Linked DNA regions of Homo sapiens: all the other regions are linked to region 1. The links are contacts of gene promoters, found by promoter capture Hi-C in human tissues and cell types (Jung and others, 2019). All regions are on one chromosome and are shown on one strand. Each heading gives the region's core, a stretch centred on a gene start or on the middle of the fragment in contact. The rest is flanking DNA. Distances are from core to core; before and after follow the strand shown. Region 1 holds the start of NRXN2 (neurexin 2). Region 2 holds the start of FKBP2 (FKBP prolyl isomerase 2). Region 3 holds the start of ESRRA (estrogen related receptor alpha). Region 4 overlaps LOC102723878 (a long non-coding RNA gene). Region 5 holds the start of FAU (FAU ubiquitin like and ribosomal protein S30 fusion). Region 6 overlaps VPS51 (VPS51 subunit of GARP complex). Region 7 holds the start of SNX15 (sorting nexin 15).

Region 1 (3,114 bases), core at 193-2,692:
GCAGGGGTCCAGGATGACTGTGGGCAGGTCCCCTGGGTGCAGCTGTTCTGGGCATGCATTAATTGCCTGGTGTAGGTACCTGTGTGCACAAGTGTGTGTGTTCTTGGGCAGTATATGCTTCCTGTGGGTGTGTTACCATGGTGGGGCATTTCTGCAGGTGTTCTTATGTGTCTCTGGGAATGCCCAGTGTTCACAGATATGTGTGCATGGCTGTGAGTGCCCCAATGTCCATGCATTGGTGGTTGAATGTAAGTGTTCTTGCATGTTGCCTCTGGCTAAGGAAGTGCCAACTACCACCAGCTGTGCAGATCACAGACCCTGCAACAGAAACCAGGGTCCTGGAGTGAGCTGGCAGAATGGTCTGGCACACATACACACACACACTCTGTCTCTCACTGTCTCATTCAGCAGCCCAGTGACCAACCTCGGGGTATACACACTAAGTGCCAGTGTGTGTACACTTTTATTGGCGGAGTGAGTGAAGGGTGTCCCCCAGTCCCCCACACTCATACACATGCACAGTGATGCATGTACCCTTACAGGAGAGACCTGCGCCCCCCAGCACCACTCTAACTGAAACTCATGGATGGGAGGAGGAGAACAGAGAAGGGGGCTGCTGCCAGGTGCCCTCAGTCACCAGGCATGTGCAGGCGCAACCCTGCCCCCACACCTACTCGTACCTCGGTCCAGGGTTCCAGGCAGAACTGAGAGTTTGGCCTCAAACTCTGGGATTCCCATGAGGCAGGACTGGGAAACCCCCAAGTTCCTAGGTCTACCCCGCCCCCATCTCTGCCTTTCCTTCCCCCACCGCCTCCGTCTTTATCCCAGCAAAGCCCCTTCCTCTTCAGTTCTGGGGGCTCCAAGCCAGGGGCCCTCCGGACGGTGGGAGGTGGGGGCCAGGCTACCGACTGGAAAAAGCCCCCAGCAGCCATGGACCCACCGAGTCCCCCTTCTCTAGGCTCCTCGAAGCCCGGGCCCGCCCCTGGGGGTAGCCAGCAGAGGGCGCTGCGGCCCAGGCCCCGCATCAGCCCTGCTCTCGCGGCGTCCCAAGTCGGGGTCCACAGCCTCTCCTTCGGCTTGTCCCAGCCCCGCGCTGCGCGAAGACCTGCTGGCCGTGGGGGGAGGGTGCGGGACCCAAGGCCCCGAACTAAGGGGCGAGGGGCGAGGGGCGAGAGTGCTTGGGTTCCCGGAAAAGACACTGAGGCCGGGTTTGGGGCCCGCCTGGTTGGGGGCCCGGGCGCCCGAGAACCTCGAGAGGCTGGGAGGAGCGCGGGTGCTGGGGCCGGGACGCCTGGGTCCCGCGCGAGGGAGGGAGTGGGCCTGTGGAGCCGCTGGACTGGCGGCTTCTGAGCCCTTGCATTGGCTGCGCTGCTCGCCCGTCAGCGCAGCGTGGTCCAATGCGCGCGTCTCGGGGGCGGGCACTGGTGCTGATGCTGCCGTCAGTCGGTGTTGCAGGGATGCGGCGGCGGGAGCAGCCGCCCTGACTCGCGGAGCATCCTCCTCGGAGAGGCACCGCGGCGGGGCGGGCGGGCGGGCGGGGACGCGGCGGGGAGGGAGAGAGGCGCGAGGCGGCAGACACCGCTAGCCCTGGCTCTGCCACCCGTCGGAGACGGGGCGGCCCTGTAGCTCTGCTACCCACCCTCCAGCTTCTGGCGCCCCGAGAACCAGGTAAAATGGGGGGGGGGGGGCGCTGCGGCGGAGACGGGCGGGGGGCGGGAGCCGATCGGGGGAGGGGAGCGGATCGGAGGGGGCGAGGGAGGCAGGACGGATGAATTGGGGGGCGGGGGCGCCGCGCTGAGAGGGCTGGCCCGGTGACAGCGAGGAGGCAAAGCCGCTGGGGGCTTGGGGGTCGGAGGCTCCTGTGGAAGGGGCACTGGCCCTGAGAGCTGAGGAGAATGGGGAGGGGTGGGAGGAAGGGTCTTTGGGGGAAGGGATGGAGAGAGGAGGGGCATCCAGAGGACTTAGAGGGGGTTCTTAAAGGGGGGTCCCCAGTCTGTGCTAGCCCCAGAGGCTTGAAGCAGCGCCGGGCCAGAGGAGCTGTTGTGTTCTGGAGGGTCTAACCAGCGAGAAACTGGGCTTCGTGGGAGGAGAGGAGAGGGGGCTGGAGAAGAGAGAGAAGTGGAGAGGGAAGGAAAGGGGCCAGGCCAAGGGCTTCGTCCTGAGGGGACCCACTGAGGACCAGGCTTTCCTGGGGGATGGGAGCCAAGGGGAGAAGAGGTTATTGGGAGAGAGCAGAGGGGAATGTGCCAAGGTGCTCCAGGCAGAGATGGGTCTGTGCTGGTGGAGAGCTGGGAAAGATGGGGTCTGAGGGAGAGGAGCGGAAGCTTGCGGGGGAAGGCTGGGGGTGATGAGACAGGGAGACTGGGAAATCAGTAGGAGGGGGCTTTGCTGGGGTGGGAATGCGCTGGGGGCGGTGACAGGGTTCTGGTCAGAGAGTGCTGCAGGGGGAGAGGAAGCTGCAGGGCCCTTGGCTTGCTCCCCCACCCCTAAAGAGGAAGGGACCATTTCTCATGTCCCAGCCTCCTCCCCCAGCTGAAGCAGCAATCTTCCCTGGGGTCTTTGGGTTGGGGTATGAGCCCTTGAACCCTTGATGGGCTTTTGGGGCACAATTGGCTTTGGGGTGCTGTTGTCTCCTTTACTCTCACCCCCCTCCTGAATCTTGGGAGAGGGCATTCGATGCCTCATTGAGCTAGCAAGGGCTGGGAGGGGCTTTTTCTTGGTGTCTGGAGGTGAAGGAGGAGGCTGTCCACCTGGAATAATGAAATAGATTTTTAGGGGGTGGGTCTTGGGTCCCCAGTCCCTTGGCTGCCCTGGGGGCTTCCAGATAGCCCTGTTTTTTCATGTGTTGGCGGGTGGGCGTCTCTCCTCTTCCATTCATTCTTATCCTTCCCTGTTGTCTACCTTCCCAGTGTCTGGGTGTTCCTTTTGGAGGAGGGTGGACATTAGGGTCTTACTTTCTCTGTCTTCTGCCAGAGAAGGAGAAAGAAAGAAGGGAGAGGGAAGGAGAAGGGGAGGGAGGTCTGCAGTCTGCTAACTGTGAGGCCTTCTGTTTTGTGGGTGCTTCAGCCCCTCAGTCCCTACCTCCTCTTGCTTCCAGGGATGGCTCTAGGGATG
Region 2 (3,114 bases), core at 156-2,655, 480 kb after region 1:
GCTTCTTGACCCCGATCTGCAGCTTCCTTTTGCCCTCGGCCCCCGTGGCCGTGGCCACGGCGCTCAGGCAGATGGACAGTACTGTCAGGACCCGGAACCAGCTCAGCCTCATGTCTCTGTGGGCACAGACCCCGACCGACCGACTGAACGTGGGGGAGGGCAGGGAGAGTATGGAACACGGGTAGGTAACAGGAGGGTTCCACCGCCACTGTATCTTCCTTGCCCCGGGGGATCCCCTTTGTCCCGGGTCACCGCCCTCTCCCCCGGGCTCCGGGGCCACACTTACCAGTCCAGTGAGAAGGGGGCTTGGCCGAGGACCCCAGCAGCGGGGGGAGGGGGTCAGGGGAGGCCACAGCAGCCAGGGACCCGCCCCTTTGCTCACCCCCATACCTTCCCTCCCTCCCAGTCCCCACCTCCGCTCTTCAGTTCCCGCCTGTCCCTTTACGCAAAGTCCAGACCCTATCTGGCTGCACTGCAGTTGCCCCGACTGGGCGGCCCCACTCACGCCACACCCAGCTGCCCCCGGTCCAGCACACCAACACCTCTGCGGCCGCTGCAGGGGGCCGGCCCCGAGGCACCCACACATCCCCACTGGGTGGCTCCGAGGAGCCCGGGTCCTCGGGAGATACCCCCCAGCCTGGCCCTGTGCTTCCGCCCGGGGCGCCGCCCCAACTCTGAGCCCTTGGGGGTCTCCGGGGCACCCAGACTGGCCCTGTGTCTGCTGGCCGCCGAGCCCGCTCCACCCACACCACCTCTCCCGGTGGAGTTCTCGGCCTACGGCGTCCCCAAGCCCGGCCACCACGGAGACCACCCCCGCGAGGACGCCCGGGGCCATTACTCGGGCCAGGCTCCTCACTTGGCTCCTTGGCACCGCCCTTCGGAGGACGCGGTACCGCCCCCGGGCCTGCAGCCCCGCCTTCGACAGAACTAGACCCCTTTTCCGGAGCCGTAGCCACGCCACTCACCGGCTGAAGCCCCGCCCCCAGCGCCTCCGCTCCGTCCCCCTCTGCTTCCGACCCCGAGGCTCCGCCTTTCACCTCCTCCAGCTCCTCCTTCAAGAGCCAGGCTCCGTCCCCCGACCCTCCTAGCTCCGCCCCCCGCCGCCGGGCTCCGCCTTCCACTGGCACCAGCTCGGAGGTCCCACCCGTCCCGGTTCCACGTCCCGCCCCGAGTCCCAGGACTCCGCCCCGTGCGGCGTGAGAACCCTCCCCCTGCGGCATCTCCGGACAGCTCCGGCCCCCACCCCCAATTTCCTCGTCACCTAGCTCTCGTTGACACTCGGAGCCCGGTCCGCTTCTGCCCGGCCTGATCCAGCCTGCCCTCTTGCACCCCGGCTCCCCCCAGCCCGGGCTGTGGCCCCCGCTCACCTCCTCGCCGCGCCCCCGGAGTCAACCCCGGTGGTGCTGCCGCCTCTGCGCAGGCGCGTCCTCGTCGCTACCAGGCCGGGCCACGCCGCCCTCCCTTATTGGACCGTGCGAAACCCGCGGCCACACGCCCGCTGGCACGGGTCTTTCCCGAGCCCCGCCCCCGCGACGCCGCTGCCCTGCGTCACTTCCGGCGGAGCGGTAGTCTGTAAGGTTAGGTGAAAGTGACTTCCGAAAAGGCCGGAGACACTTCCGGCCGAGGTGATAGTAAGGTCAGGCGGGCGTGGGTTCCCGGAGGGGGTCTTGAGGCGCCATTTCAAGTCGCCCCCAGCCTCTCCCACAGCACTCCTGTTTTCCCGGGCCTCATCATGGCCCACGGCCCTCAGTCGCTGTGGAGCCTGGGCTTCACAGTGACACTCACGTTTGAACTCCCGGTCGGCTGTGTGCTTGGTAGAATTTGTCATCCAATACAGGCGTGTAACACGGGCTTGATGACACCCACCCCACAGGGCCCCTGCAGGACCGAGATGATGTCCAATGACAAGCCCTGGCTTCCAGCCAATGCTCCTGCCCACATCTCTCTCCCAGGAGCCAGGCTTACCTCTACCTGTGCACCTGGGCTGTGACTCATGACTGGAATGATCTGGCTGGGCCTGTTCCCCCACCAGACTTATTTTCAGGCGCCCCAGCAGCCACCAAACATCTGTCAACTGAAGTAATGAACCTGCAGTTGAGAGGCAGCTAAACCTAGGTTGAAGGTTAGGGAGACAGCTGAGTTGAGGTCAAATCCCCCCGGCCAGTTAGCCTTTCTGAGCCTATTTCCTCAATTGTAAAAGGAAGACAATCATGATGCTGACCTCAGAATCGAGCGAGGAGAAAGTGAGGAGGTGCATGTGAAGCATTGTGCGTGACTGGTGGGGCTAACTGGGCTCTGGAGGCGGTAGCTCTGGGGCCCTAACCCCTTTCTGCCTCATGCTAATTGACCTATGGCATGTCCAGTGACATCATGACTGAGAAAATGATTTGAAAGTAGTAATCGCTGTCAGGAATTGTCTCCTGGTTCAACCCACTCCTGCCTTAGGCCCACTAAGATCATACCCACATGCTCTGACCCAACACCTCAGAGAAAGCCTCCATTAGGGTGGCTGCCCCTCCCAGTGGCTGCCCAATTGAGTTAACTCTGCCCCTGAATGTCCTGCTTCAGCAGGCAAAGCAGTGGTGCCCAAGGTTGGCCTTTCATCCACCCCAAACCACTCAGCCCTGGGCACTGGAGGCTGCAGGGAGAAGGGTAGGGGCTGGGCTTGGGCTAGGATAGACAAGTCAGGAGAATCTCAGGCAGCAACTGATGATGAAGGAAGCTGCAGGATGCAAGGGAGGCGAGGGTGGAGAAAACTGTGTGGGTTGGGCGGGCGCGGTGGCTCACGCCTCTAATCTCAGCACTTTGGGAGGCTGAGGCAGGTGGTTCACCCAAGGTCAGGAGTTCGAGACCAGCCTGGCCAACATGGTGAAACCCGTCTCTACTAAAAATGCAAAAATTAGCTGGGCATGGTGGTGGGCACCTGTAATCCTAGCTACTTGGGAGACTGAGGCAGGAGAATCGCTTGAACCCAGGAGATGGAGGTTGCAGTGAGTGGAGATTGTGCCATTGCACTCCAGCCTGGGTGACAGAGTGAGACTCTGTCCAAAAACAAAAAAAAAAACAAAAAACTGTGGGTTGGGTTGAGGGGAGCCTGCCGCCCAAACCAGGCCC
Region 3 (3,114 bases), core at 449-2,948, 420 kb after region 1:
CTTGATGTAGAGAGGCTCAATGCCCACCACCTGGCTGGACATGGCGCTGGTCACCTGCACGGAGAGACCCATAGGTTCGCAGGAAAGCACTGGTATGGGGGATGGGAGACACCCTGCCACACGGGTTGCCCAACCTCGGGCCTAGGGCCAGGCTTCCAAGCCCAGCAAGTGGGGAAGAAGGGGGGCAGAGTCCAAGGAAGGACTGCCCAGGAACACTGCCCCCTCCTAGCTGTTGCCATGGAAACAGAGTCTTCAGGGCCAGTAACTGACAGCAGGTCTCCCCCTTGGGAACCTGGGGGAGGCTTAGAAAGCCCCTACTCCCACCCAGGCCAGGGAGCAGGGTAACCGTAGCCCCCAGGCAACCTTCAACCCCACCTGGAATCCCTAGCCAGGAGCAGGATACTTCCCAGTTTTCTCCAGATGTTGGGGGGACCTCTGAGACCCTGCCCTCATCTGGGTATTCTGCATTGGAGAGCAGACCCAAGGCCAGTGGACGTGCTCACACCGAGTTCACACACTCCACTCACCGGGGTGCTCAGGAGCCCCACAAGCCCACGCAGGCTCGCTCTCTGCTGAGGGCTTTCACACTTGCACCGGCCTTCCCAAACCCGTGCTCACTCCTGCTCACACTTGTGCTCACACACTTCTCCTGGAGCGCACACCCCATCCACGAACTCAGTCAAGGCTCATGATCACACACACTCTCACTAGGTCTCCCCACATCCACACGCACAGGCACGGACTCATGAAAACACCTCCAGAGCTTTTCACACCTGACACGCGGCTGCCCTCCTGCCCCAGCATGCCGGTCCCAGGCACACGGCGGGCGCCGCTCCACCTCCTCGCGACCAGCCTGCAGGTCCACTCTTATACTCCCGCTGTCGCAGAGGCCGCCACCTCCCGGGGCGCCGCGTCCCGCCCCCAACCTGCGCACACCTTTGGGAAGTTGCCTAAAGTTGCTACGCCTCCCCCTCCCCGCCCGCGGGAGACCTCTACCAGGTTATCAGGAAGTAAGTGGGGAGAGCCAAGGAGGAGGAAGTTCTCCCCTGCCGGTGCGATGACCTTTGACCCAGAGAGGAGGGTGGCCCCAGGCCCCTTCGAGCGCCCCCACGTGGTCTTCAGAGCCCCTTCCCAGACATAGAGCCCTCCCCGTCTTCCACCCCGGCCAGCCCCAGGGACTTCGGCAAATGCGGGATTGAACCCTGCCCCGGAGCGGGCTGGATCGGAGGCCCAACCCTGACCCGAGTCAGGACCCGCAGCCAGAGCCAGATCCTGCCCCAGGCCGGCCCACCAGGACTCGGACGCCGGATCCCGCCTGAACCCTGACCAGTCCGACCCTCGACTGGGTCCCAACCGTGGCCCGGACTGGCCCCAGAGTCGGACCCCGCCTGCAGCCCGCCCCGCCCGCCTCCCTGCCGCGCTCGCACATGGCCCCCGCGCCCCGCCCGCCCACCCCCGCGGCAGCGCTCCCCTCCGCCCCCGGACCTGGGGCTCCGGCAGCGCGGTCGGGCAGGCATGGGGGCCGAGCGGCCCGGAGTGCCGGAGTGAGCCGGGGGCCGCGGGCGGCCCCTCCTCCGCCGCCTCCTCGGGCCGCGCCGCCCCACCGCGCCGCGTCCCCTCACTCGGCGGCGCCGCCGGCTGCTTGTAGGACACAAAAGGACATCGCGGCCGCTTCCTACTCCGCTTCCTCCAGCTGACAGCGGGGGTGGGGCCGGCCGTGCGCATGCAAAGCAGGGGGCGGGGCCCGGGGTCCTATGCTAATCAGACCAGCGGGGCGGGCGGCGCCTGCGCGCCCGGACGAGTCGGGGCGGAGCCGGCAGCGCCAGTGGGCGGGCCTTCGTGCAGGTCCCGCCCCGCAGCCCGCCGAGCCACTGCGGCGCACATGCGTACGCGGCCCCTGGGAGGGGCGGGGCCGGAGACGCGGAGGGCGGGGACAATAGAGCCGAGAGCAAGTGGGGCCAGAAGCGCTCTTTCGTAACGGAGGAGGCGGGGCTTGCTGCGCGCGAGAGGAGTGGGCGAGGCGGTGCAGGCTGCAGTCGCGGAGCCAAGAGACCACTTACAGATGAAAACGCAAGGGCGGGACGAGCGGAGAGGCTGGACCTGCTACCTATGCTTGAGGGGCGGAGCCTAGCGCGCCGTCGCGAGGAGGGAGGTGCTGCCCCGTTCCCCCTACCCCCTTCCCCCAAAGCGACACCAACTGAGCACTCGAACCGTAGACCCAGTAGCCCCACAGAGCTGCGGAACTCGGGGTGGGTGAAGCCGACTTAAAACATGCAATAAGTCCTGGATTGCGAGTCCCGGAAGGTAGGGCCGATAGGGCCCGGACGGAGAAAGCTCAAGGTCACTGCGGTGACCGAATGAAGGTCACTGCGGTGACCGAATGAAGGTCACGGGGAAGGGCGGGGCCACGTGCGTCCGCCTCACGCGGGCTGTCCTGCACTGACTCACGGACCATGCATCGACTCTTTTATTTCTTTAGGACTCAAATTCCACTCGGATGGGGTCAGGCTTGGGTCTGGGGACCGGGCTGGCACGGGGCTGGTTCGGGTCGCTGCTCGAGCCCAAGGTGGCGTTTTTAATTCACGTACAGCCTCTTGCTCCGGCGCTTCTTGAGCCCTTCGATGTATCGCTGCAGCTCCTTAGTCAGGAAGTGGTCCCTGCCGATCCCTAACTGGTAGCCTAGGAGGAGGGCAGAGCTCGGCTCAGGGCAGTGAGCAACCGAAAGGTCTCCCCACCAGGGGGCGCCGCATGTGTGATTCGAGGAACCGCAGATGATTCGAGGTAGCAGTAGCGCAGGGCACTCAGGTCTGTGTTAGCCTGGGGAACTTTGCATCTCTAAGGGTGCTGAGTGTTAAGGTGGAGGATGGATGAGGTCAAGGCTAGGGAAGAGGTTGCAGGCCTGAACTAGGGCGGTGGTAGCGAGCAGTTTGCCCACCTTCTGGACCAGCCACCCACTCTAAGCCATCAGCTGGCCCTTTATCACCGCTGGGCTTTCCTACCACAGCAGCAAAAGTTCACCCACATAATCCACTGTCCAAAGGCTCCTCACAACTCCCCAACCAGAGGCAGTCGAGGCCACACCAAGGCGGTCATCCCACTGTGCAGGTGGAGAAA
Region 4 (3,114 bases), core at 384-2,883, 400 kb after region 1:
CGGCATATTCACTGCTGTATCCCCAGAGCCTCGCACAGTGCCTGGTGCAGAGATGATTTTCAGCAAAGAGGCACTGAAGGGAAGATACCTATGTGACTGTGAGGAGACACAGGTGAGCAAGTGGAACCTCTGAACACCTGATTGGGCCACTCATAATGACATGAGAATTGCAATGCTCAGAGGAGAAAAGCAGCTTCTTTTGGTGAGAAGTCACTGAGATTAAAGATCTGTCTTAGGGTCGGGCATAGTGTCTCATGCTTGTAATCCCAGCACTTTGGGAGGCCAAGGCAGGAGGATCACTTGAGCAGAGGAGTTTGAGACCAGACCAGGCAACACAGAGAGACTTTGTCTCTACCAAAAAAAATCAAAAATTATCTGAGCATGGTGGTTCATGCCTGTAGTCCCAGTTACTAGGGAGACTGAGGCAGGAAGATCACTTGAACCCAGGAGGTAGAGGCTGGTGGTGAGCCGAGATCGTGCCACTGCACTCCAGCCTGGGTGACAGAAGGAGACCCTGTCTCAAAAAAAAAAAAAAAAAAAAAAGGCCGGGAGGCCTTTGGGAGGCCAAGGCGGGCGGATCACGAGGTCAGGAGATCGAGACCATCCTGGCTAACACGGTGAAACCCCGTCTCTACTAAAAATACAAAAAATTAGCCGGGCATGGTGGCGGGCGCCTGTAGTCCCAGCTACTCAGGAGGCTGAGGCAGGAGAATGGCATGAACCCGGGACGCGGAGCTTGCAGTGAGCCGAGATTGTGCCAGAGCAAGACTCCATCTCAAAAAAAAAAAAAAAAAAGATCCGCCTGTGCCTTAGTGGTGATGGTTGCACAACTCGGTGAATATATTGAAAACAACCGACTTGTACACTTTAAAAAAAAAAAAGAGACAAGGTCTCATTATATTGCCCAGACTGGTCTCAAACTCCTGGACTCAAGTAAGCATCCCCCTTCACCCCCACAAAGTGCTGGGATTACAGGCATGAGCCACCATGTCTAGCCTTTGTACAATTTTACAGGCTGAATTTTATGATATGTGAATTGTATGTCAATTTGGCAAATCTATCTTTGATGAAGCCGAACCATGTGGCTCAGTTCCCGCAGAAACTAATTCAGGAAAGGGACAGGGAACCAGGAAAGAGGGCTGTTGTCCTCAGCAGTGAAACTGACTTGGGGCCCTGAAGGTTAGAGTGATCTGGGCAGGGGCATCCCAGCGGGGAACATTGTCTGGTAGATGCTGAAAGGGAAGAGATTGGAGGACCCACAATTGGGAATCAGGGTGACTTTGGTGACCAAGGTTGCAGGGAATGGGGACAGAGGCTTGGAGAGAAGTCACTGGGGAGATGAGGGGACCACACGTGGATCTGGGCCAGCTTCGTATTAACCATGCCCTTCCATGGCTGACAGGAAAGGCAGGGAAGTGGGCATCTCCTGGGAAGCATGGAACCTCAAAGGTCCCTCTTCTCAGAGGTGATCCCTGTGTGGCCACACTGCTTGCTGTCCACCCAATATCCTTTCTCTCTCTCTCCCTGACTAAAAAAACTCATAATTTTTAATTTAGACACATGGCACCCTGGAATGAAGTTGATACTTCTCAGCTTCCTTTGCAGCTAGTATGACCATGTGACTAAGTTCTGTCCAGTGAGATGTAAGTGGAAGGGATATATGACAGCTTCCAGAAAAAGCTTCTTGACAGACAGCTGGCATGGGCCTTTTATCTTCTGTTCTTCATTTCCTCCTTCCTGCAGGCTGGACGATGAATGTGATGGCTGGAACTCAAGCAGCCACAGTGGATCATAAGGTAAAGACGTGTTTAAAATGGCAGAGCAGCAAGACAGAAGGAATAATCACACAGCTAGCATACTAGCTCAACCTCTCTAGTGCATACCTGTGAGCTAAGCCTTTGTTTTTTTGTTGTTGTTGTGTTGTTTTGTTTTGAGATGGAGTTTTGCTCTTGTTGCCCAGACAATGGCACAATCTCGGCTCACTGCAATCTCCACCTCCCAGGTTCAAGCGATTCTCCTGCCTCAGCCTCCTGAGTAGCTGGGATTACAAGCATGCACCACCACGCCCTGCTAATTTTGTATTTTTAGTAGAGACGGGGTTTCTCCATGTTGGTCAGGCTGGGCTCGAACTCCGGACCTCAGGTGATCCGCTCACCTCTGCCTCCCAAAGTGCTGGGATTACAGGCGTGAGCTACCACGCCTGGCCTTCACTTCTTTACTCCTTCCCAAAACGTGTTAAGTATTATCTGTGTTTCCCACCCTGAGCAGGGCTCCTTACCTGTGTTAAGTAAAAAGACATGATTCCCAACTCCAGGAGTGCGAGTTGATGATACAAATATAATCACATGGCAGGCCAATATGCATGCTCGTTAACACCAAGAATCTGTGCCTTCGCATAGATGTTACCTGAACTTCTCCAGAAGTTATACCCATGCACACTTTGCACTATCTGCTGTCACTTCTCAATGCCTGTGTCACCAAACCCCAACCACGCCCAGTAGAGTGTGTCCCTTTGGGGCCAGCAGCCTCCACTGCCCCTGATCACAGCACCTTCATGGCTGCAGCCCAAGCCTGATCTAGGCCAGGAACACCAGGACCCCTCCAACCTTTTCTTTGTCTCAGAAACCCAGACTTGACTCCCTTAGGGCCTATTGAAAACTCCCCCGATAGGCCAGGCGCGGTGGCTCACACGTATAATCCCAGCACTTTGTGAGGCTGAGGCGGGCAGATCACGAGGCCAGGAGTTCAAGACCAGCCTGGCCAACATAATGAAACCCCATCTCTACTAAAAAATACAAAAAGTAGCCGGGCATGGTGGCACGCGCCTGTAGTCCCAGTTACTCAGGAGGCTGAGGCACAAGAATCGCTTGAACCCGGGAAGCGGAGGTTGTGGTGAGACTCATTCTGTTGCCCAGGTTGGAGTGCAATGGCGTGATCTCGACTCACTGCAACCTCTGCCTCCCAGGTTCAAGTAATTCTCCTGTCTCAGCCTCCCAAGTAGCTGGGACTACAGGCATGGCACCACCATGCCTGGCTAATTTTGTATTTTTAGTAGAGATGGGGTTTCACCATGTTGGCCAGGCTGGTCTCAAACTCCTGACCTCAGGTGATCCG
Region 5 (3,114 bases), core at 456-2,955, 400 kb before region 1:
ACTGGCACCACCCATGTTATTCATCCTTGTAGCCAAGGATAACTGTCTCAAAACAATTATGTAATACTCATTTTTCCTTTCCTTTATTTATTTTTATTATTTTTTTAGATAGAGTCTCACTCTGTCACCTAGGCTGGAGTGCAGTGGTGTGATCTCGGCTCACTGCAACCTCCGCCTCCCAAGTTCAAGCAAGTCTCCTACCTCAGCCTCCCAAGTAGCTGGGACTACAGGCACACGCCATCACACCCGGCTAATTTTTGTATTTTTTCTAGAGACGGGTTTCACCATGTTGGCCAGGCTTGTCTCAAACTCCTGACTCCAGGTGATCTACGCGCCTTGGCCTCCCAAAGTGCTGGGATTACAGGCGTGAGCCACCGTGCCTGGCCCATTTTTCTGTTAAAAACCTTTGTCTTCTTTTACCTCCCTGATAAGCACATAGTCTATACCCATTCCCGAATAAATATCCTTTTCTTTTAGAGTCTGTTATTTAGGTTGACATAAGATAGCACCAGTCTTTGGTTTTCCATGGTGCAGGGTACAGATGGGATGGAAAGGAGGCTCAGGTACTCTGAATGGTCTGCCTCTCAGGATTTCTGTGGGATGCAAAAGAGTATATGTACACTTCTGAAAAGTCAATCAAGCCTTTAGAAACTTAAGGCTTAACTTTCTGTCTCGGTTTTAGAAATAGATATTATTATATTGGCAGCGTGGCCTTGTTTGTACCTCCATGATTGCCTGGCTGGCCTTGCTAACCTAATCACATCTGTGACGGGATATAGTGATGTTTAATCTTATGATTGCCTTAAGAATTAAGGCAATCAGACGGGTTCGGCGGCTCATGCCTGTAATCCCAGCACTTTGGGAGGCCGAGGCGGGCGGATCACGAGGTCAGAAGATCCAGTCCATCCTGGCTAACAAGGTGAAACCCCGTCTCTACTAAAAATACAAAAAATTAGCCGGGCATGGTGGCGGGAGCCTGTAGTCCCAGCTACTCGGGAGGCTGAGGCAGGAGGATGGCGTGAATCTGGGAGGCGGAGCTTGCAGTGGGCCGAGATCGCGCCACTGCCCTCCAGCCTGGGCGACAGAGCGAGACTCCGTCTCAAAAAAAAAAAAAAAAAGAATTAAGGCAATCATAATTCCCCACGCACACTCATATGCTAGGACCCCGCCCCTTACCTGAAACGTTGTGGCTTATATAGACACTGCCAGGCACTGTGTTAAGTGCTCCCAAAGAGCACCCCAGTCTACCATTTTCCCTCTCGATTCTATATGTACACTCGGGACAAGTTCTCCTGATCGAAAACGGCAAAACTAAGGCCCCAAGTAGGAATGCCTTAGTTTTCGGGGTTAACAATGATTAACACTGAGCCTCACACCCACGCGATGCCCTCAGCTCCTCGCTCAGCGCTCTCACCAACAGCCGTAGCCCGCAGCCCCGCTGGACACCGGTTCTCCATCCCCGCAGCGTAGCCCGGAACATGGTAGCTGCCATCTTTACCTGCTACGCCAGCCTTCTGTGCGCGCAACTGTCTGGTCCCGCCCCGTCCTGCGCGAGCTGCCTGCCCAGGCAGGTTCGCCGGTGCGAGCGTAAAGGGGCGGAGCTAGGACTGCCTTGGGCGGTACAAATAGCAGGGAACCGCGCGGTCGCTCAGCAGTGACGTGACACGCAGCCCACGGTCTGTACTGACGCGCCCTCGCTTCTTCCTCTTTCTCGACTCCATCTTCGCGGTAGCTGGGACCGCCGTTCAGGTAAGAATGGGGCCTTGGCTGGATCCGAAGGGCTTGTAGCAGGTTGGCTGCGGGGTCAGAAGGCGCGGGGGGAACCGAAGAACGGGGCCTGCTCCGTGGCCCTGCTCCAGTCCCTATCCGAACTCCTTGGGAGGCCTGGCCTTCCCCACGTGAGCCGCCGCGACCACCATCCCGTCGCGATCGTTTCTGGACCGCTTTCCACTCCCAAATCTCCTTTATCCCAGAGCATTTCTTGGCTTCTCTTACAAGCCGTCTTTTCTTTACTCAGTCGCCAATATGCAGCTCTTTGTCCGCGCCCAGGAGCTACACACCTTCGAGGTGACCGGCCAGGAAACGGTCGCCCAGATCAAGGTAAGGCTGCTTGGTGCGCCCTGGGTTCCATTTTCTTGTGCTCTTCACTCTCGCGGCCCGAGGGAACGCTTACGAGCCTTATCTTTCCCTGTAGGCTCATGTAGCCTCACTGGAGGGCATTGCCCCGGAAGATCAAGTCGTGCTCCTGGCAGGCGCGCCCCTGGAGGATGAGGCCACTCTGGGCCAGTGCGGGGTGGAGGCCCTGACTACCCTGGAAGTAGCAGGCCGCATGCTTGGAGGTGAGTGAGAGAGGAATGTTCTTTGAAGTACCGGTAAGCGTCTAGTGAGTGTGGGGTGCATAGTCCTGACAGCTGAGTGTCACACCTATGGTAATAGAGTACTTCTCACTGTCTTCAGTTCAGAGTGATTCTTCCTGTTTACATCCCTCATGTTGAACACAGACGTCCATGGGAGACTGAGCCAGAGTGTAGTTGTATTTCAGTCACATCACGAGATCCTAGTCTGGTTATCAGCTTCCACACTAAAATTAGGTCAGACCAGGGCCCCCAAAGTGCTCTATAAAATTAGAAGCTGGAAGATCCTGAAATGAAACTTAAGATTTCAAGGTCAAATATCTGCAACTTTGTTCTCATTACCTATTGGGCGCAGCTTCTCTTTAAAGGCTTGAATTGAGAAAAGAGGGGTTCTGCTGGGTGGCACCTTCTTGCTCTTACCTGCTGGTGCCTTCCTTTCCCACTACAGGTAAAGTCCATGGTTCCCTGGCCCGTGCTGGAAAAGTGAGAGGTCAGACTCCTAAGGTGAGTGAGAGTATTAGTGGTCATGGTGTTAGGACTTTTTTTCCTTTCACAGCTAAACCAAGTCCCTGGGCTCTTACTCGGTTTGCCTTCTCCCTCCCTGGAGATGAGCCTGAGGGAAGGGATGCTAGGTGTGGAAGACAGGAACCAGGGCCTGATTAACCTTCCCTTCTCCAGGTGGCCAAACAGGAGAAGAAGAAGAAGAAGACAGGTCGGGCTAAGCGGCGGATGCAGTACAACCGGCGCTTTGTCAACGTTG
Region 6 (3,114 bases), core at 187-2,686, 380 kb before region 1:
TCTAGGTGAGAGGTTGGCAAACTACAGCCTGCAGGCCAAATCTGGCTCAATGCCTGGTTTTCTTTTTAATTGGGATATAATTGACATACCAATTCAGTGGTTTTTAATATGTTTAATATATTCACAAGGTTGTACAACCAACCTCACTACGTAATTCCAGAACATTTCATCATCCCCTAAAGAAACCCTGTAACCCTTGGCAGTCATTCCTTATTCCCCCACTCCTAGAACTTGGCAACCATTAATCTAGTTTCTGTCTCTATGGATTTGTCTATTCGCTACAGAATACATTTAACAGAAATGGAATCATAGGCATATGAAACATTAGCATGTTTCCAAGGTTAATCTATGTTGTAGCCTGTGTCAGTATGTTATATCTATTTTTATGGCTGAATAATATTCCACTGTGTGGATATTTGTTTATATTCATTCAATTGATGGCCATTTGGATTGCTTCCACCTTGTGGCTATTATAAAAAGTGCTGCTATTGGCCAGGCATGGTGGCTCTTGCCTGTAATCCCAGTACTTTGGGAAGCCGAGGCAAGCGGATCACTTGAGGTCAGGAGTTCAAGACCAGCCTGGCCAACAAGGTGGAATCCCGTCTCTAGTAAATATACAAAAAATAAAAATAAAAAAATTAGGCGGGTGTGATGGTGCACACCTATAATCCCAGCTACTCAGGAGGCTGAGGCAGGAGAATCGCTTGAACTGGGGAGGCGGAGGTTACAGTGAGCCAAGATGGCACCACTGCACTCTAGCCTGGGTGACAGAGCTAGACTCCATCTCAAAAAAAAAAAAAAAAAAAAAAACACTGCTATGAACACTTGTGTACATGTTTTTATGTGAACATGTTTTCAATTCTCTTTGGTATATTCCTAGGAGTAAAATTGCCGATCATATGGTAATCTTGTGTGTGGTTTTGAAGAATGGTCAAACTGTCTTCCACACTGGGTGCAGCATTTTGTGGTTTGGATTTGCATTTCCCTAAGACCTAATGATGCTGAGCATATTTATATGTGCTTTTCGGCCACTTGTATGTTTTCTCTGGAGAAGTGTCTATTCAAATCCTTTGCCCATTTTAAATTAGGGTTATTTGTCTTTTTAGCCCTGAGCTAAAAAACGTTCTTTTTATGTTCTGAACACTAGATTTTTATTAGATAACTAACTTGCAAATATTTTCTCCCATTCTGTGGGCTGTCCTTTTATTATTATTTATTATTATTATTATTTTTGAGACGGAGTCTCGCTCTGTTGCCCAGGCTGGAGTGCAGTGGCGCGATCTCGACTCACTGCAACCTCCGCCTCCTGGGTTCAAGCGATTCTCCTGCCTCAGCCTCCTGAGTAGCTGGGACTACAGATGCCTGCCACCATGCCTGACTAATTTTTGTATTTTTAGTAGAGATGGGGTTTCACCATATTGGCCAGCCTGGTCTCAAATGCCTGACCTCAGATGATCCACCCGTCTCGGCCTCTCAGAGTGCTAAGATTATAGGCATAAGCCACCGCACCTGGCCTTTTTATTTATTTATTTATTTTTTGAGACTAGGTCTTGCTCTGTCACCCAGGCTAGAGTGCAATGGTGAGATTATAGCTCACTGCAATCTCCAGCTCCTGGGCTCATGTGATCCACCCACCTTAGCCTCCCCAAGTAGCTGGGTTTATTCTAACAAGTGTGTGCCACCATACCCAGCTATTTTTTTTTTTCTAGATATCGGGTCTCACTATGTTGCACAGGCTGGTCTCAAACTCCTGGGCTCAAGTGATCCTCCCACCTCAGCCTTCCAAAGTGCAGGGATTACAGGCATGAGCCACTGTGCTCAGCCCCATCCATTCCTGCCAGTGCAGCTGGAGGAATCTATTCAAACCAGAAATCTGAGCACATCACTCATTTGTTTTAGCTCTCTGTGGATAAAAGCCAAATCCCTAATACATTCTGGAAGGTTTCTAGTTAAACTGCACATCTACTATCTGCCTGGCTCTGCCCACATTCTGCTTCCCCTCCTGCTACCATAGATGAGCTCCCGGCCCTTTGCTGAGGCCGATGCCTCCATCCCTGCTCTGTTCCACCCCCCTCCTTCCTGAGGACCTAGTTCCTTTCTCATTTTTCTCTCTCTCTTGCCCAATCAACACACACTCCATGCTACATTACTTTCCTGAGTGTCTCGCCCAAGTCTATCAAATCTATGTCTTGAAACACCTTCCTCACGCAACCTCCACCTCCTGGGTTCAAGCAATTCTCCTGCCTCAGCCTCATGAGTAGCTTGGACTACAGGCATGCACCACCTTGCCCAGCTAATTTTTGTATTTTTAGTAGAGACAGGGTTTCACCATGTTGGCCAGGCTGGTCTTGAACTCCTAGCCTCAAGTGATCCACCCACCTCAGCCTCCCAAAGTGCTGGGATCACGGGTGAGAACCCCATGCCCGGCCCCTCACTTAAGCTTCTAAGACATCAATGCTCCTGGTTATCCTCACACTTTTCCAAACGTTTGTTCCTTTTGTGGGATGTACAAAAAGAGCTAAGTCTCAAAATATTATTATACACATTCCAACAAATGGAAAATGTAATCTTATTAAATTCCTGTGAGAAATATCCCAGCACAGAAACTATGATTTCTTGCCATTTTGATGCTGGTATTAGCTAACAGAAAGGTGCCTACTCATGGAATCTGCTTCAAATCAGATAAAAGAACAATGTGTATAGGTTACCACACCCACCACTGTGACACGAGAGTAAGACATCAGAATGCAACCCCACAGATGCTCCCAGAACATTCCACAGGCTGCAGGTAAACCCTTTGGATCTGGCTCCTGGACTTACTACACGTGGGTGTACAATTACTACAAAAGTCTGAGTAGTACATCTCCTCAAAACAGCACAGAAGCTAGTGTGGAAAACAGTGGAACACTGTCTGGCACTAGAGAATAAAGAGGACAGAAGAAAAAAAAAGCCTCGACATGATCTTTGTGTCCCCTAATATCATACATCTTCTCTCTTTGCTTAGTTAAGGAGGGAAGGAAGGGAGAAAGAAAGGGAGGGACAAGACCACCTATTCTTCCCTGGAGCAGAAAAGAAAGCTATCAATAATAAGAGAAACTACACCTTACTGAGGTT
Region 7 (3,114 bases), core at 292-2,791, 300 kb before region 1:
ACCTGGGACTACAGGTGCACGCTGCCACGCCCGTAAGTTTTTGTATTTTTAGTAGAGATGGGGTTTCACCATGGTAGCCAGGATGGTCTCGATCTCCTGACCTCGTGATCCGCCCGCCTCGGCCTCCCAAAGTGCTGGGATTACAGGCGTGAGCCACCGCGCCCGGCCACCACTGGGAAGACTTATAATAAAAGGTTACAGTTCCTTGCCACATCCTCCCCACCCCAGCCCCACCTCCAGTCTATCTTCCCAGGGACAATCTATTTATTTGCTTTTTTTTTTTTTTTTTTTAAAGTTGTGTGTGTGTCTGTATTTTAATATTGATCCGGGGTCTCACTATGTTGCCCAGGCTCGTCTTGAGCTCCTGAGCTCAAGCAATCTGCTGCCTCAGCCTCCCAAAGTGCTGGGATTTACAGGCATGAGCCACTGAGCCCGGCCTTATTTGCATTATTTTTAGGCATGGAAAAGACGTAAACGGTTTGGGGAAAGCATATTTTAAATAGCTAAGATTCTGCACTTAGATCACTTTGGAAGTGTCCTTATGTGCCTGCTTTGCTTTTAGAGTTAACTAATGCACCAGCTTAATAGTCGCCTGGTTGAAAATTCTAAAAGTACAAAAAATTTACAGTAAAAAGTCTTCCCCTAACTCCTGTCCCCAGTGACACAGTTCCTCTCCCTGGGGACCTTCCTTGTTACCAGTTCTTGTTATCATTCTACAGGTGTCCTGTTTTACTGTTTCATTTTTAATTATTGTCATGGTTTCCTCCATGTCTCTCTATAAATTGTGCTTATGATGTTGTTATCGCTTCATATATCAACTCTAGCCTATCTATCTTCCTGCTGTGACCTTGATATGGCGACTTACTCCTTAAGTCCTTCTGAACTGCATCAATTTTTTTCAACCACTGATCAGTATTATTTTTTGAAAAATTAAAAATGGTTAAACTCGTTAAAGGGAGTTTATGTAACATCAAACAAACCAATAAACAAAACTTACTCTACGAGAATGGAGTACTAATATTTGGATTAAACCAGAGTTTTCATGTTAATTTAGAGAAATTCACAGCCTGATGCCCAGACACTACACTCCGGGCGTGGGCATACACGCCTTGCCTGTCCGGGAACGGCCGTCAACGCCCTTTTAAAAAAGACAGCGCCCACCCAGGACCCCGCCCCCTGGTGGTTAAAGATGTAAACTAAGCCTCGTACTGCAACCTCCCCTTAAAGGGGAAACCCATTTCTGTCGTCTAAAAAGGGAGCAGTGGCTGCACCGCCTTTCCTTAAGGTAAAACTCGGCGCCCCTCTAGTTAAAAGGGTAAAGTACGCGCTGGGCCCCACCTCACCTGCGCGGTTACTTTGTACTCGGTGTAGCCCTTGGGGTGAGTCCTGGGGTCCGACACTGTGTAGTGCCGCAGGAAGTCATCCTTCGCCTGGCGGGACATGAAACCGAGCTGGAGCGGAGCGGAGCGCCGGCCTCCACCTCCTCGCCGTCCCCACCCCTCCGGCCCAGCCTCCGCCCGCCGCCGCCTCGCCAGGCCTGCGCTCTTCTTCCTCTGGCCTAGGGATTTTGTCGCAAGTGACAGCGCTGTTCCGATCCCGGGTGCGCGGCCAAGGGAGCGTCTGAAAAGTTCCTTCTCTGTGGTGAAGCGTAAACCCAGGTCACTGGAAAGATTGGTTGGGAAGGCTGGGATCACTCGTCTCATTTCTGCCGGGTGATCAAGCCCACCCTATCCAAGCGTAAACCCTTGTCACAGACTTCCAAACGACTTCTCCCCGCTTCCTAAATCCCTGCTTTCGTTCATCCACCCAACTCTTATTGTGTCCAGTATGTACAGGACAACGTCAAATTATTTCCCTGTCTCCCTCCACAGGATTCCCTAATTCATGTTTTCTGGAAAGTAGAGGAAGCAAAGAAGGTTGGAGAAGCAGGATGGTGTCATGGGCTCTGAGTCACGACTCTTACTAGCTGTAGGAGTTTCCCTTAACTACTCAGCCTCAGTTTCTCATCTGTAGAATGGAGATGTTTATAATAGAATCTGTGTAGGGCAGTGGAGCTTTTTTGCGATGGGTTTGCTGCCAGAACACAGGTGTCGTGAAAACCACCGTTAAATCAAAGCCAAAATGGGGGTTTGGCGCGGTGGTTCACGCCTGTAATCCCAGCATTTTGGGCAGTGGAGGCAGGTGGATCACTTGAGGTCAGGAGTTCAAGACCAGCCTGGCCAACATGGTGAAACCCCGTTTCTACTAAAAATACAAAAATTAGCTGGGCGTGGTGGCGCACGCCTGTAATTCCAGCTACTCCAGGGGCTGAGCTGGCTGATGGCTTCAGCCCAGGAGGTTGAGGCTGCAGTGAGCTGCAATCACACCACTGCACTCCAGCCTGGGCAACAGAGTGAGACTCCATCTCAAAAGAAAGGGAGCAGGGGAGGGAAAAGACTCAGCTCAACATCATCATCTGATTTGGGCAAGTCCAGCACTACTGGCCATCTGATCTACAAGTGTGGTGGGATCCACAAAAGAACCATCGACAATTTTGAGGAAGCTGCTGAGATGGGAAAGGGCTCCTTCAAGCATACCTGGGTCTTGGGTAAGCTGAAAGTTGAACGTGAGAGTGGTATCACCACTGATACCTCCCTGCTGGCAATTGAGACCAGCAAGTACTATGTGACCATCCTCAATGGCCCAGGATGCAGAGACTTTATCAAAAACCTGACCTCAGGCTAATTGTGCTGTCCTGATTGTTGCTGCTGGTGTTGATGAATTTGAAGCTGGTAATTCCAAGAATGGGCAGACGCGTGAGCACACCCTTCTGTCTTACACGCTGGGTGTGAAACTAATTGTTGGTGTTAACAAAATGGATCCCAATGAGCCACCCTAAAGAGGAGAGATGGGGGCCGGGCGTGGTGGCTCACGCCTGTAATCCCAGCAGTTTGGGAGGCAGAGGTGGGTGGATTAGGAAGTCAGGAGTTCAAGACCAGCCTGACCAAGATGGTGAAACCCCGTCTCTACTAAAAATACAAAAATTAGCTGGGCATGGTGGCGGGTGCCTGTAATCCCAGCTACTTGGGAGGCTGAGGCAGAGAATTGCCTGAAACCAGGAGGCAGAGGTTGCAG

The links. Contacts are between HindIII fragments. The study calls those that stand out against the background at their distance.
Region 2: a contact is called between the fragment with the promoter of FKBP2 here and the fragment with the promoter of NRXN2 in region 1, in 1 of the 25 tissues and cell types used here (spleen).
Region 3: a contact is called between the fragment with the promoter of ESRRA here and the fragment with the promoter of NRXN2 in region 1, in 1 of the 25 tissues and cell types used here (dorsolateral prefrontal cortex).
Region 4: a contact is called between a fragment that was not itself captured here and the fragment with the promoter of NRXN2 in region 1, in 5 of the 25 tissues and cell types used here (dorsolateral prefrontal cortex, lymphoblastoid cells, mesendoderm cells and 2 more).
Region 5: a contact is called between the fragment with the promoter of FAU here and the fragment with the promoter of NRXN2 in region 1, in 1 of the 25 tissues and cell types used here (spleen).
Region 6: a contact is called between a fragment that was not itself captured here and the fragment with the promoter of NRXN2 in region 1, in 3 of the 25 tissues and cell types used here (dorsolateral prefrontal cortex, hippocampus and spleen).
Region 7: a contact is called between the fragment with the promoter of SNX15 here and the fragment with the promoter of NRXN2 in region 1, in 2 of the 25 tissues and cell types used here (adrenal gland and spleen).

What each region holds. Positions count from the first base shown.
Region 1 is chr11:64,721,525-64,724,638 of GRCh38, reverse strand. It overlaps NRXN2 (neurexin 2), which reads left to right and starts at 1,442. Exons shown (of 23, transcript NM_015080.4): 1 at 1,442-1,668. RefSeq lists an enhancer at 552-601 and silencers at 982-1,281, 1,268-1,562. The HindIII fragment of the contact is 11,757 bases long and covers 1-3,114 here.
Region 2 is chr11:64,239,386-64,242,499 of GRCh38, reverse strand. It overlaps FKBP2 (FKBP prolyl isomerase 2), which reads right to left and starts at 1,405. Exons shown (of 6, transcript NM_004470.4): 1 at 1,368-1,405; 2 at 1-116. The coding sequence starts at 112. It overlaps LOC114841035, which reads right to left and starts at 1,405. Exons shown (of 6, transcript NM_001370414.1): 1 at 287-1,405; 2 at 1-116. The coding sequence starts at 1,220. The coding sequence ends at 423. RefSeq lists silencers at 207-446, 477-1,496 and enhancers at 595-1,495, 1,777-1,896, 1,937-1,996, 1,496-2,398. The HindIII fragment of the contact is 16,951 bases long and covers 1-2,191 here.
Region 3 is chr11:64,304,108-64,307,221 of GRCh38, reverse strand. It overlaps ESRRA (estrogen related receptor alpha), which reads right to left and starts at 1,698. Exons shown (of 7, transcript NM_004451.5): 1 at 1,486-1,698; 2 at 1-54. The coding sequence starts at 42. CATSPERZ (catsper channel auxiliary subunit zeta) reads right to left here. Exons shown (of 5, transcript NM_001039496.2): 5 at 2,452-2,679. The coding sequence ends at 2,576. KCNK4-CATSPERZ (KCNK4-CATSPERZ readthrough (NMD candidate)) reads right to left here. Exons shown (of 11, transcript NR_133662.1): 11 at 2,453-2,679. RefSeq lists an enhancer at 1,002-1,071 and a silencer at 1,482-1,991. The HindIII fragment of the contact is 12,153 bases long and covers 1-3,114 here.
Region 4 is chr11:64,326,166-64,329,279 of GRCh38, reverse strand. It overlaps LOC102723878 (a long non-coding RNA gene), which reads left to right. Exons shown (of 4, transcript NR_188518.1): 3 at 1,744-1,796. Among named protein-coding and RNA genes, the nearest start is that of PRDX5, 9.6 kb to the right of the region's middle. The HindIII fragment of the contact is 7,757 bases long and covers 1-3,114 here.
Region 5 is chr11:65,120,725-65,123,838 of GRCh38, reverse strand. FAU (FAU ubiquitin like and ribosomal protein S30 fusion) reads left to right here and starts at 1,705. Exons shown (of 5, transcript NM_001997.5): 1 at 1,705-1,749; 2 at 2,018-2,100; 3 at 2,195-2,339; 4 at 2,803-2,858; 5 at 3,033-3,114. The coding sequence starts at 2,026. It overlaps MRPL49 (mitochondrial ribosomal protein L49), which reads right to left and starts at 1,518. Exons shown (of 4, transcript NM_004927.4): 1 at 1,415-1,518. The coding sequence starts at 1,492. RefSeq lists enhancers at 1,228-1,497, 1,658-1,747. The HindIII fragment of the contact is 8,684 bases long and covers 1-2,133 here.
Region 6 is chr11:65,098,222-65,101,335 of GRCh38, reverse strand. All of the region lies in intron 2 of VPS51 (VPS51 subunit of GARP complex), which reads right to left. Among named protein-coding and RNA genes, the nearest start is that of VPS51, 3.6 kb to the right of the region's middle. The HindIII fragment of the contact is 4,540 bases long and covers 1-3,114 here.
Region 7 is chr11:65,025,866-65,028,979 of GRCh38, reverse strand. SNX15 (sorting nexin 15) reads right to left here and starts at 1,541. Exons shown (of 8, transcript NM_013306.5): 1 at 1,344-1,541. The coding sequence starts at 1,442. It overlaps ARL2-SNX15 (ARL2-SNX15 readthrough (NMD candidate)), which reads right to left. Exons shown (of 11, transcript NR_037650.2): 4 at 1,344-1,662. It also overlaps the pseudogene EEF1A1P18. RefSeq lists a silencer at 1,410-1,579 and an enhancer at 1,429-1,723. The HindIII fragment of the contact is 29,710 bases long and covers 1-3,114 here.